2 separate regions of the Homo sapiens genome follow, and region 1 is linked to region 2. The links are contacts of gene promoters, found by promoter capture Hi-C in blood cells and fetal thymus (Javierre and others, 2016). All regions are on one chromosome and are shown on one strand. The core of a region is centred on a gene start or on the middle of the fragment in contact, and the rest is flanking DNA. Distances in the headings are between cores, read along the strand shown. Region 1 has its middle 67 kb from the start of LINC00323. Region 2 holds the start of DSCAM-AS1 (DSCAM antisense RNA 1).

Evidence for each region. The method cuts DNA at HindIII sites, captures the fragments that hold promoters and counts their contacts. A CHiCAGO score of 5 or more calls a contact.
Region 1: a fragment that was not itself captured here is called in contact with the fragment with the promoter of DSCAM-AS1 in region 2 in 1 of 17 cell types (M0 macrophages); the score reaches 5.6 in M0 macrophages.

What each region holds. Positions count from the first base shown.
Region 1 is chr21:41,078,190-41,084,244 of GRCh38, reverse strand. No RefSeq gene overlaps it. Among named protein-coding and RNA genes, the nearest start is that of LINC00323, 67 kb to the left of the region's middle. The HindIII fragment of the contact is 680 bases long and covers 4,239-4,918 here.
Region 2 is chr21:40,381,739-40,388,744 of GRCh38, reverse strand. DSCAM-AS1 (DSCAM antisense RNA 1) reads right to left here and starts at 5,662. Exons shown (of 2, transcript NR_038900.1): 1 at 5,290-5,662; 2 at 3,387-4,166. The region is part of intron 3 of DSCAM (DS cell adhesion molecule); the gene reads left to right. The HindIII fragment of the contact is 5,736 bases long and covers 3,015-7,006 here.

The sequences.
Region 1 (6,055 bases), core at 3,329-5,828, 700 kb before region 2:
TTGCATTCCTATATAACAGCAATAGTCCAGCTAAGAACCAAATCAAGAACTCAATGCCATTCACAATAACCACAAAACAAATAAAATAACCTGGGAATACAGCTGACCAGGGAGGTGAAAGTCCTCTACAAGAAGAACTATGAAATACTGATGAAAGAAATTGTAGATGACACAAACCAGTGGAAAAACATCCCAGGCTCATGGATAGGAAGAGTCAATATTGTTAAAATGGCCGTACTGACCAAAGCAATCTACAGATCCAATGCAATTCCTGTCAAATTACCAACAACATTTTCCATAGAATTTTAAAATTCATATGGAACCAAAAAAGAGCCCAAATAGCCAAAGCAATTCTATGTGAAAAGAACAAGCCAGAGGCATCGCATTACCCAACTTCAAACTATTCCACAAGGCTATAATAACCAACATAGCATGGTAGTGAAACAAAAATAGACACCTAGATCAATGGAACAGAATAGAGAACCCAGAAATAAGTCCACATACCTACAATCAACTGATCTTTGACAATGTCAACAAAAATAAACAAAGGGGAAAAGATACTCTATTCAATAAATGGTGCTGGGAAAACTGCATAACCATATGCAGAAGAATGAAACTGGACCTTCTACCTCTCACAATATAAAAAAAAAACTCAAATGGATTAAAGACTTAAGTGTAAAACCTCAAACTATACAAATTCTAGAAGAAAACTTAGGAAAAAACACTTCTGGACCCTGTTCTAGGCAAAGATATTACGACTAAGACCTCAAAAGCAAAATTCAACAAACCCCAAAATAGACAAATAGGACTTTATTAAACTAAAGAGCTTCTGCACAGCAAAAGAAACAATCAACAGAGTAAACATAACCTACGGAATGGGAGAAAATATTCACAAACTATGAATTCCACAAAGAACTAATATCCAGAATCTATAAGGAAATTCAACAAATCAACAAGAAAAAAACAAATACCCCTTTAAAACATGGCCAAAGGATTTGAGCAGACACTTCTCAAAAGGAAACATACAGGCAGCCAACAAATGAAAAACTGTTCCACATTGCTAGTCATTAGAGAAATGCCATCTCACACCAGTCAGAATGGTTATTATTAAAAAGTCAAAAGAAACTAACAGATGTTGGCAAGGATGTGGAGAAAAGGAAATGCTTATACACTGTTGGCGGGACTGTAAATTAGTTCAACTCCTATGGAAAACAGTATGGAGATTTCTCAAAGAACTAAAAATAGAACTACCATTTGACCCAGAAATCCTGCTACTGGTATATACCCAAAGGAAAAGAAATCATTTTATCAAAAAGACACCTGCACTCATATGTTTATTGCAGCACTATTCACAATAGCAAAGTCATGGAATCAACCTGTGTCCATCAATGGTTGACTGGATAAAGAAAATGTGGTACATATGTGTATATGGAATACTATGCAGCCATAAAGAGGAATGGAATCATGTCCTTTTCAACAACATGGATGGAGCTGGGGACCATTGTCCTAAGTGAAATACCTCAAAAACAGAAAGTCAAATACTGCATGTTTTCACTTGTAAGTGGGAGAAAAAAAATGGGTACACATGGACATAAAGATGGAAATAATAGACGCTGAGAACTCCAAAAGAGGGGAGAGTGACTGGGAGGTAAGGGTTGAAATACTGTCTATTGGGTGCTATGCTCACTATTTGAGTGAGGGGTTCACTGAGAGCTCAAACTTTAGCATTATGCAATACACATACCCCCTGAATCTAAAACAAAACAAAACAATCCCACTACCAAAAAAAAGTCAAAATAAATTTCAAGTATCTCCTACTTCTGCTGTTTCTTTAGGAGTTCTTCTTCACTGGAGAATGTTTTGGATTATGAGAGGAATTCTTGAGGAAGACTGGGTTAGCAAATGCCTTTCTGCTCTATTCAGCCTCAGAAGCCCATGCTCTATTAATGAGGACTGCATGCTGGAGCGTTGCCATGGTGTGAAGGAAGAGACACTTCTAATTTGCTTCCTAAAAATTGAATCATCATAGCGTGAATTTCTCTTAGTCTCTCATGATTCCAAACTCACCTGGTGCTAGGTATGCAGCTAGGCCTTATTTATTTATTTTCAATGATGAGGCTGAAACTACCTTTGACAGAGTACTATTCTAGTCTGGAGAGACTAAGTGTTAAAACAAACAACTCCTAAATCCCGGTGGCTCAAAGTCATTTTATTTCTTACTCACAAGAGTCTAATGAGGTTAGGTGGCTTTCTTGGGTGGTTCTCCTACATGTGCTAATTGAAGAATCCAGGTTCCTTTTCTTAATCAAAATTAAAAATCTAAGTCCCCTAACCATTTCAATAGACGCCTTGTCTTGGCAAAGGCATTCCAAAGTTAACCTGAACCATGAGTTCAGGCCATGATGGGAAGTGGGAGCTGACATGCCTCATTATCCCCTACTCCTTTTTGTAATTACTGATATAACAGACTTTAAGTCTGATAAGAAACATTTGCAATTTATTCTCTCTGAAGCCTGCTACCTGGAAGCTTCATCTGTATAATAAAACCTTGGTCTCCACAACTGTTATCATAAACCTGACATTCCTTTCTATTGATAATAACTCTTTTACCCAATTGCCAACCAGAAAATCTTTGAATCCACCTATGGCCTGAAAGACCTTGCTTCCAGTTGTCCTTGCCTTTCTGGATCAAACCAATGCATATCTTACATATATTGATTGGTGCCTTATGTCTCCATAAAATGTATAAAACCAAGCTGTGCTCTGACCACCGTGGGTAAATGTCATCAGGATCTCCTGAGGCTGTGTCACAGGCACATCCTTAACCTTGGCAAAATAAACTTCTCGACTGAGACCTGTTTCAGATATGTTTTCATTGACATTTTCTTCAAGTGGTTCTGCCGTCTTAGAGTTCTTCATGTTTAGCCTCATGGTTGGGAGAGATGGAGCATGGAAGACAACATGAGATGCTTCAGAGCCAGGTGGAAGCGGCATTTCACCCACACTTGTTACCAGAAAGGGGTCCTGATGCAGACCCCAAGAGAGGGATCTTGGGTCTCATTCAAGAAAGAATTTGGGGTGAATCCATGGAGTCAAGTGAAAGCAAGTTTACTAAGAAAGTAAAGGAATAAAAAATGGCTACTCCATAGGGAGAGCCGCCCTGAGGGCTGCTGTTTGCCCGCTTTTATGGTGATTTCTTGATTATATGCTAAACAAGGAATGGATTATTCATGAGCTTTCCAGGAAAGGGGTGGGCAATTCCCAGAACTGAGGGTTCCTCCCTTTTTAGACCATATAGGGTAACTTTTGGACACTGCCTTGGCATTTGTAAACTGTCATGGTGCTGGAGAGAGTGTCTTTTAACATGTTAATGCATGAGCAGTGAGGATGACCACAGGTCACTTTCCTTGCCTTATTGGTTTTGTGGGTTTTGGCCAGCTCCTTTACTGCAAACTGTTTTATCAGCAAGGTCTTTATGAACTGTATCTTGTGCCGACCTCCTATCTCATCCTGCCTAACCTCCTGGGAATGCAGCCCAGCAAGTCTCAGCCTTATTTTACCCAGTCCCTATTCCAGATGGAGTCACTCTGGTTTAAACACCTCTGACACATTCATTGACCAGACCCCAGTCAGATGTCCCAACCAAACTGCAAAAGAAGGTAGGTAGGAAGTGTAGAGATTTCTCATATACCTAGGAAGACACAGAGGGATTTGGGTGGATCTGGCAGTCTGTGATGCTTGTAATTAAGGAAATGTTTACATCATTGATAACTATCAATCGTGTATAAAATTCCTCCAGTTGTTCTTTTGATCTTTAGGGCAGAATTGGGTCCTCATAGCCCTAAGATCATGGCACACTGGCATCACTGTGGTGTGCAGGGCTCCTTTTTATTTGCCCTTCCCCCTTGTACCAGCTCTGCCTCTCCTACACCTCTCATAGCCGCTCTCTCCAAAGTGTTTATTATGTGTTCTGAAGTATTCATGTGCCTTGTAGAAGGAGCATCGTAGAGTGGGTTTCTGCCTCCTCCCATCTTTTCCAATTCTTGATATTATTCATGACGTATATAAAGTGGTCTGCCATTGTAATTTTGCACTAGTTTGAATGATAGGGTCTCTCCAAAAGTCATGTTGAAACAAAACTGCCCAAACAGTAGTATTACGAGGTGGGGCCTTCAGGAGGTGATTAGGCTATGAGGGCTCTCCCTTCGTGAAATGAGATTGGTGCCTTATAAGAAGCTTGAGGTGGCCAATTTTCCTCCTTCTATCTCTTCTGTTATGTGAGGACACAGCATTCCTTTCCTGCAGAGGGTACAGCAACAAAAGGGCCATCTTGGAGGCAGAGACAGGGATCCCATCAGATGCTGAAACAGCTGGTGTCTGGATCTTAGCTTCCAGAACTGTGAGAAAGAAATTTCTGTTCTTCATAAATTATCCAATCTCAGGTGTTTTGTTATAGCATCACAAATAAACCATAGTAGGTTTTATTTGTGTTACTTTGATCACCACTGATTTCTATACCTGCTTACACATACCCTTCTGTAGGTTCTTAGTCATGTTTTTGTTTTCTATAGAATTTCAATTTTCTATAAATTTTCTTCTTGCTGATTTATAAGAGTGTACATTCTAAATATTAATATGCTGTTGATTTTTGATGAGGCAAATCTCCTAATCTGTCATGTGTCTGGTAACTTAGTTTTTAGCATTTGTCCCTAAACCAAAAGCCTTAATTTTGCTGCATTGAATTGACCCATTAATAAATAACTTCATGGCTTGTTCTTTTTGGTACTTGTTTAAACAATCTTGTGCTAATTTTGGGTCACAAAGACCTTTCCTATATCTTTGCAATTACTTTCAACTTTTAGGTTTTTAAGCTGTCTGGAGTTTAAATGTTTTGATGACGTCAGCTGGGAATAAAGCTTTATTTTTCTCCATAGTGATTCAATTTCTTGCAAATCATCTACTAAACAATCTCTTCTCTTTGCACTGTACTATGGTGCTGCCTTCATTATACACAAAGTTGGTGCAAGACTATCCCTGAGCTCCTTCAGGGGTCTCATTGATCTATTTGTCCAAATCTGTGCAGAACCATATTGCTCTTATTACAATAGTTTTATCAAGTTAAGTCCACCGTGATCCTTATCTTTAGTCTTCATTTTCAAAATCAGTTTAGTCACTTGTGGCTTTTTATATGTAATTTTGGAATTATTGTGTTGAATTCATTTAAAAATCACCTGAAATATTAAGATTGCATTAAATATACAGATTAATTTAGAGATAATTGGTATATCTACAATATTAAGCTGGTTAATTGGTGTATCTACTATATTAGGTATACTATATTATGCTATTTGCACAAGGATCAGGGCATAAATTTCCATTTATTCATATTACTAATATCTACTAATTACTTAAACATTTCCATAAAAGTATCATGCATTCCCTCTTAGGCTAATTTTTTTAAAAACGTGGGTTTTAGTCATAACAAAGTTTAATTGGGGATGCATTCTTCTGAGAGGGTTTCTGTCAGATTCCATCACAAATGCCTGTAGAAATGTGTCCCTCTCGGTAAGAGTTGGCTGGTTCTGCCTCCATCATCAACCTCATTCTCAGATGGAGCTCTTCAGAAAACGTAAAAAGCTCCCATCAATTAAAATAAATTAACTGCACCCTGGGGATATGATTTAAGACATGAACTCTGCCTGAGTAGAAAAATTTCAGCCTATTTCAACCCCAACAATCCTTCAACATCATTTACACCCCAGGGAGCTCTGGGACCTCTGTTTTGCTTATGAAAATAACACGCATTAAGAAACGAGGACACTGGAAATGAGTACTCTTTGGAGAAAGACTCAGGGCCTCTCTGAACTCCTCCACCAACATAGTGTTCACAAAACTATACGTAGTTTTTCTTTTGCGTAGTTTTACCCAAGAACTTATGCCACTAAAAACCCAGCTTAGGATGGCCTGAGGCCAGTACAAATTTTGTTCTGAAGTCTTGTGTTTTAATAGTAAAATTTTATTCAAAATTTGAATTCTCCAAAATATGCTGTTTACA
Region 2 (7,006 bases), core at 4,413-6,912:
TAGTAGGATTGAACACACTTTCCAGAATGTGAAGTTTGCAGTGCTTAGAGTTGTATCAAATATTTTCAAAGAACACAGCTGGTTTATCAGTGGAGGAGGGGGGGTTTAAAATGGCCTTAACTCCCGTGATTTTCCTATGAAGATTAAATAGAGTAATGACCATGACAGCCTTATGGAAACTGTAAAGAGCAAGGTCTGGTTTCTCAAACAGTAAAGAGATGCCTGCCAGGTTAAGATGTGGGTGAAATGGAATTTGTGGAAAAGTGTCAAAAGCACTAAAGAGATTGCTTTTCTTCACCCACAAATACAGCACGCTGACCTACCTCATACCGAGAAACACAGGACTTCATGATACCATCTGCTGTGATCTCCCTCCCATCTGAAATGCAATTGTCTTCCAGTGTTCTAGAGGCATCTAACTTTTTATATCAATCATATTTGCCATTATTATCACTTTATACAGTCATTATTTGTTTAGGGTTACTCACGCATACCTCGTTCTTTCTCCACCCTTCTTTTTGCATCTCATTATTGAGTACAATTTCTTTTCTGGAAGCACATCCTTTAGTTCCAGGCGCAAGCCTGCTATTGGCAAACTGTCGGTTCTTATCAATACTGGGAAATTTCCAAATTGTTTTCCCAAATATTGCTTTTCTGCCATTTTTTTCTACCCTCTCCTTGAACTGTGGATTTCCTCTATCTCTCCTTCAAGTCTCTTAACCTTTCTTTCATATGTATCTTTCTTTCTTCCATATGTTTCTTTTTCTCTCTAGGAAATATTCTGAGTAATTTCTGTAGATTTATTTTCTTGTTCACTAATTTTTCCCAACTGTGTCTAATATAAATATTTATGTCAAGGGTTATGTGTTTTATTTCTGCCCATTCTGCAAATATTTTATTGTTTATCTAATATTTGTATCTTTTATGATATACTCTTATTCACTTATCCTATTTTTAATTCAATTCTATAGTTTTGCAACATTTAAAATACTTATTGTGTAAACATTGTCGAGTTATTTCATTGTCTGAGGCCTCTATTGCTTCTTCTGACTCCTTTTTATGATAAATTGTTCTCTAATGTGTTAGAGGTTTGGTACTGGAAGCTCAAGATTGGAAGGGAGGAGTCAAGCTTCATCTGTAAACATTTCTCAGTGCTCCTTCCTCCAGGGAAGATTTATTTGTCTTTGCTTCTGCCAGATGTCCTTAGAAGCGAAGTCACTATATGTTATTTTCTAGAGTGAGGTCTACTGGACCCTGGAGACAGTGAGACTACAAATCCCAAACCAGAGCAAGGCCAGTACTATGGTTAGACATAATCCCTACACAAAGCTTAGGCTAGGAAGGCAAGGGTATTTGCAAAGGCTGTTTTTTTTTTTTTGGAGGTCCAATCTTTTAGTGAAGTTGTACTTTTCTGCAGACTTCTCTTGTGTAGGACTTGTGTAGGACTAACAGCCTTCCATTTCCTCATTGCTGTTAAAACTATGTTTTTTCCCCCTAAATGTGCAAATGTCACAGGGAAATTATAGGTAGTATCAACAAGATCTTTGCTGTTAGGTATTCACCCCCCCTCTTCCTTTATAGAGCCCAGAGGGCTTTCCTTACCTGAGAAACCTGCTGTTCATTTAAGTCAATGTTAGATTTATGCAGCTTGTCTAAGTTTCTTATACCTGGAGAGTTTTCAAAATAATTAGTTTTTTACATAGTCAGAAATGGAAGTTGCTACAACTCACTGCTGATTCACTGACTATATTAAACTACCTGAAAAAAAAATGGAAAAATAAGGTTCCAAATAATGTAATCTGACATACATTTCATGAGAGAAATGACCAAAACTTAATCCTAGAGGGAATTTTATCTTAAAATCCTAGAGGGAATTTTATCTAAAGAAAATTCATTAGATGGTTGTAAAGCAAAAATGAAATTAAAAAATAATATAAATAAACGTGGAGTTCAAGAAAAACGTCACTGTTTCCACTTTTAAGTGGAGAAGTAATTTGACAAATTTTCATTGAAAGAATTTTGCTGATCACGAGTTTCTATCAAAACCCAAGAAGTGTAAACATAGGAAGTGCTTATAGGTTAATAAAGCAAAAATCATGTGTTATTAACGAGGAAGTGTTAAGGTGGTGCCAGATCCACGGGCACTCACTATTTCATTTCTGGGAGCGTTTTTCAGCCTGCAGTTCCCACACCACGCGTGCCGTGGAGCTCTCTGTGCCACGCTGCGGGGCCTCGGTCTGACCAGCAGGGGGCACCGAGTGTTCTCCCGCAGCGGCCCGGCGTGGGCGGCGGCTCCAAGGCCGATTCCTCAGCACCAGGCAGGTGCCTTTGAAGCAAAGGGCGTTCATTCACATTCACAAAGGTCTCCGGAACAGCCTTGTAGGTTCTTCAACTGCCCTCAACTAAAGCTTCGGAATCTGAAAACCTGGGAAGAAGCTTAGTGTCCTGACAGTATTTTCCTTTTAATTTTGCAAAGTTTACAAAATCCATTAAGAATTGCTTTGCAATGAAAAATATACACATTTTTATACTTTTTGTTTTCAAGTGCTTCATTCCATTTATATTTAGCGGTGAGGCGGGCCTAGGCAAAAATGAAATAAAAGCACAGTGTTAAGATCTGCAAGGCCATTAAATTGCAGTGCACGTAATTAATGGACCATGATATTGCTTAAACACAAATGTACACTAATCTTGATCCAGCGGTACTAGTGATTTGTTGTTACAGGGCTAGATCCACCTAAAGCTCATGGTGAACACTTACAACCTTGCACAGAAAGTGACTGTGCTTGAAAGCACGAAGGCAAAATCCCATTGGCCAAAGATACCTTGTATTCCTAGCTGTGAATCGGTTTATCCTCTTTATTTTATACTTTGCATTATTTTATTACTTGGAAGAATTCACCCACTTTTTTCTGACAAAGGCTTATCAGATTTTTCTTCTTAAAAAAATATATATAAAGTTTTGAAGAAAAGACAAAGCATTGCAAAGAGCTGTCAGAGGGGGACGAGAAGCTTACAAAGTGAGCAGGTGGCACACAGCCTGTCTGCAGTGGTCATGTGAGAGCCAAACCCCTCAGCCACATTAACAGCCTACAGCATGTGCCAAGCCCTTAAGAAGTCACATAGCATTTCAGAGAATCCCACAAAACCAAAAACACAAATTCTGTCAATGCAATACATATATTTCTAGGTAGACGTATTAGTACGTCTCTTATGTGGGTGCCGAGGAATCTTGTAAAAGTTTGTGCAAAATTGACGTCAGTTTTACTGCTTGTCAGCAGTGAAATGAGTGGATTCATTGATTCATTCATTTGACAAACATTTAATGAACCACTACTCTGTATGTGTTCTAGGGACTGGGAATACAGCATTGAACAAAATACAGAACTAAATGCATGCTTGATGGAGCTTTTATTGCCATGGTTAGCATGAGTTACATTCATAAAATATACTTTATTTTCATTAAAAAGAATGAGCTAGATTTCTTTATATCAACATAGAGAGATCTTAAGGAAACATAACGTTGGATGGGAAAAGTGAGTTTTTCCATGAGAAATAGTAAAATACTTATGTAAGTTTGAAAAACAAAGAGAAAATACAGAACCATACTATGTGAAGTTCATTGTCACAGCTATGTGTGGGAGTGTGTGTGTAATAAAATAAAAAGTCGAAACTGGGAATACACACTAATATTTCTGATAATAGGGTTTTTTAGGAGAAAAATATAGGATGGGGAGGGAACAAAGAGAAAAATAAAGCATTTTCTGTAAAGTTTTATTTATTTCATTAAAAATAAATAAAGCAAATTACACCAAATGTTAACAATGATCAATTTTAAGAAATGGGTACATGGATGAGTATGTCATGCCTATGTGGGTGATTGGTACTTTTTCAGTTAAATAAATAAATGGCAGTTGGAGGAGGGACAGAGAAGGACATGGGGAGTGAGACCAAACAAGGATCATGATGAGACCAGAACTTCCCTAGAGGAGTGGCCCGTTGTGAGCCTGAGAGATCCCCTGTAGCGACACTGAGCAGAGCTCCCTGTGCCTCTTTCCGTCCTGGCCTCACGCTGTCTGGTTGGCTTTCCCGATCCGTCGTCCATCTCTGTTGTCCTGTTGTTGTTGTTGTGGTTTTGAGATGGGGTTTCGCTCTTGTTGCCCAGGCTGGAGAGCAATGGTGCGATCTCAGCTCACCGCAACCTCCACCTCCCAAATTCAAGCAATTCTCCTGCCTCAGCCTCCCGAGTAGCTGGGATTACAGGCATGGGCCACCATGCCTGGCTAACTTTGTATTTTTAGTAGAGATGGGGTTTCACCATGTTGGTCAGGCTAGTCTCTAACTCCTGACCTCTGATGATCCACCCACCTAGGCCTCCCAAAGTGCTGGGATTACAGCTGTGAGCCACCACGCCAGGCCTTCTGCTGTCCAGTTTTAGTAACAGCTTTAGCAACTGCCTTGCTCTGCTCTCAGCATTCTCTGTTTTAACCATCCCGATTTCACCTCTGCCTCCCTTATGTCTACCTTTTGTCTCACAGTCTGACAATGAAAATCATCTGCCACTATCCTAGCACCAACCTGTGGGCCTCCCTGAACTCCCACTTACCTGGGCCACGTCAGCCCTGCAGCCCACGGAGCTCCTCCAGGGGGTGCCTCTCCTGTGTTTCCTTGGCTGTGATCTCCAAGCAGAGGGCAGGCCAACTGCGTGTTTCCTAGTCCCCCTAAGTAGCTTCATCTTTCCCTCCTAGCAGTAGACCCCTATCCCTTTCTCTAAGAAACACTGTATAACCCACCTCTTCCAGGAAGCATCGTGAACACAGTACTTCTCAAATCTTTGTCATTCATGAACTATCTTTATGATATCTGCAATCATTGAATGCCATCTGTGCTAGTGTTTTTGTCCTTTGAATAATTCTTGTTTACTTAAAACAATGTAATTATAAAAAAATGCATTACTACTTTTAAATGGAAAATCAGTTTAACTAGCCATACAGATAAATGCAATACAATGAAAGAAAAACAATAATATTAAATTCTAGTCAGATACAATTGCCTTCCAAAGACTCTAAACCAGCGGTTTACTTTTCCTTTGTCTAAAAAAAAAGAAAAGAAAGAAAAAGGAGACTAAGAAGTGTTAGAGCAATAGTGAAGATAACTTACTTCTGCAAAAACGTGCTGAGAATTCTAGTGGAGGCACCTAAGTCAGTGAGTGGATAACTGGTACCTTCTGTGGCTTTCCCTTTGAAAGAATCACAAGAATTGAGATTTACAGAGGAGAAAAAGTCTCACCATGTGTCCGGATATCATTTCTCTATAGCGTCTTATCAGCTGCATACCATCAGTGGGTTCCACTCCATTTTAATTCATCATGGATATATCATTTTCTTTTCTTTTCTTTTCTTTTTTTCTTTTTTTAGAGGGAGTCTTGCTGTGTCACCCAGGCTGGAGTGCAGTAGTGGCATGATCTCAGCTCACTGCAGCCTCTGCCTCCCGGGTTCCAGCATTTCTCCTGCCTCAGCCTCCTGGGTAGCTGGGATTCCAGGCGCACACCACCACGCCCGGCTAATTTTTGTATTTTTAGTAGAGACGGGTTTTGCCACGTTGGCCAGGCTGGTGTCGAATTCCTGGCCTTAGGTGATCTGCCTGCCTCAGCCTCCCAAAGTGCTGGGATTACAGGCATGAGTGACCTGCCCAGCCAGATATATCATTTCCAATCTCTCTTTACATCAGCGCTTACGTATATCCAACTGACACTGTTTGCCTCTGTTTTGCAATTGTTTGCACTTTTACTTTATGGTATGTTTCCTTTCCTTCTCATTAGGAATTAGCCTTTTAGGTAACTTGGATTCCATTACTAGGTCTGCATATGATGGGCAGTTGCTACATGATTTTATTAATACCATTTTGTTACAAAGGTTATTGCAAGGCAATGGAGTTTGTGATAAGCTAGATCTGGGGAAGTCATTTAGGGAATTGAGTTACTCTCACAGTGCAAGGCTCTGTGACATGAAAGACAGTCTCAAAGATTCTCATGGGGTCAGACTATTTGAAACCAAAAGGCAGTGGAGTGGGAGTGACACGAGGGACCGCATCTGACATGGTTTCTACCCTTGCGTGTTCTTGTAAGTATACATATTTGCATGTACATTTGTATGGATAGCTCAGTAAACTCATTATAGTTTCCTTTGACATCATCACGTGTCATTGGGAAACAAATGTAATCCAAGACCTTCAAATGATGTTGCAGTTTTAAAAAAATAAACTGCTTTCTCTGCTATTCCCATTATAAATGCAACCAAGCCTATGGCCTTATAGACTTGCTGGTCTCAAAGCATGTGTTTGAGGTGGGAAAAAATGTGTCATGTCCAAGGAAATGATACAAGATATACTTTGAAAATAGAACTGATAGGACATAGAATTGGCCTGAATGTCAGGATGAGGCAAAGGAGATGAGGACCAAGGCGGCTGCTAGGTCTTGGTGAGGAGCCCTGAACAGGTGAAGAGTCCCCCTACCAGGAATAAGAACTAGGGGACTTGCTAAAGCAGGAATCTTTAATTTAAAATGCAGAAATATTTAAAGAGAGAACTTTAAGAATCCAAGGTATACCAGCTGATGCTAAAAGACGATTAGCCTTGCTTTGAAACGGAAGCCTAGTCAGAAAAGTAACAATTCCATCACTAAGATGTTGAAAAAGGCTCTTCAAACATTTTTTGCTCTGACTCACAGTAAGAGATACATAGAATAAAGACATTTTATCTTAGAACTCAGTAATGCATACACATAAATACACACATAAATATACAAACACACACATAACTTTATGTATGCACAGGTGTACTGAAACAAGCTGCAGAATATTTATCACCACTATTTGATACACACTGATACATTCTATGCTCTTTTATTTCATTTTTTTAAAAAGTAAAGCTGCAATCCATGAAACTGATTTCACAACCTATTAGTAGGTGAACCCAAAGTGTGAAAAACCATTATCCCATAATATTA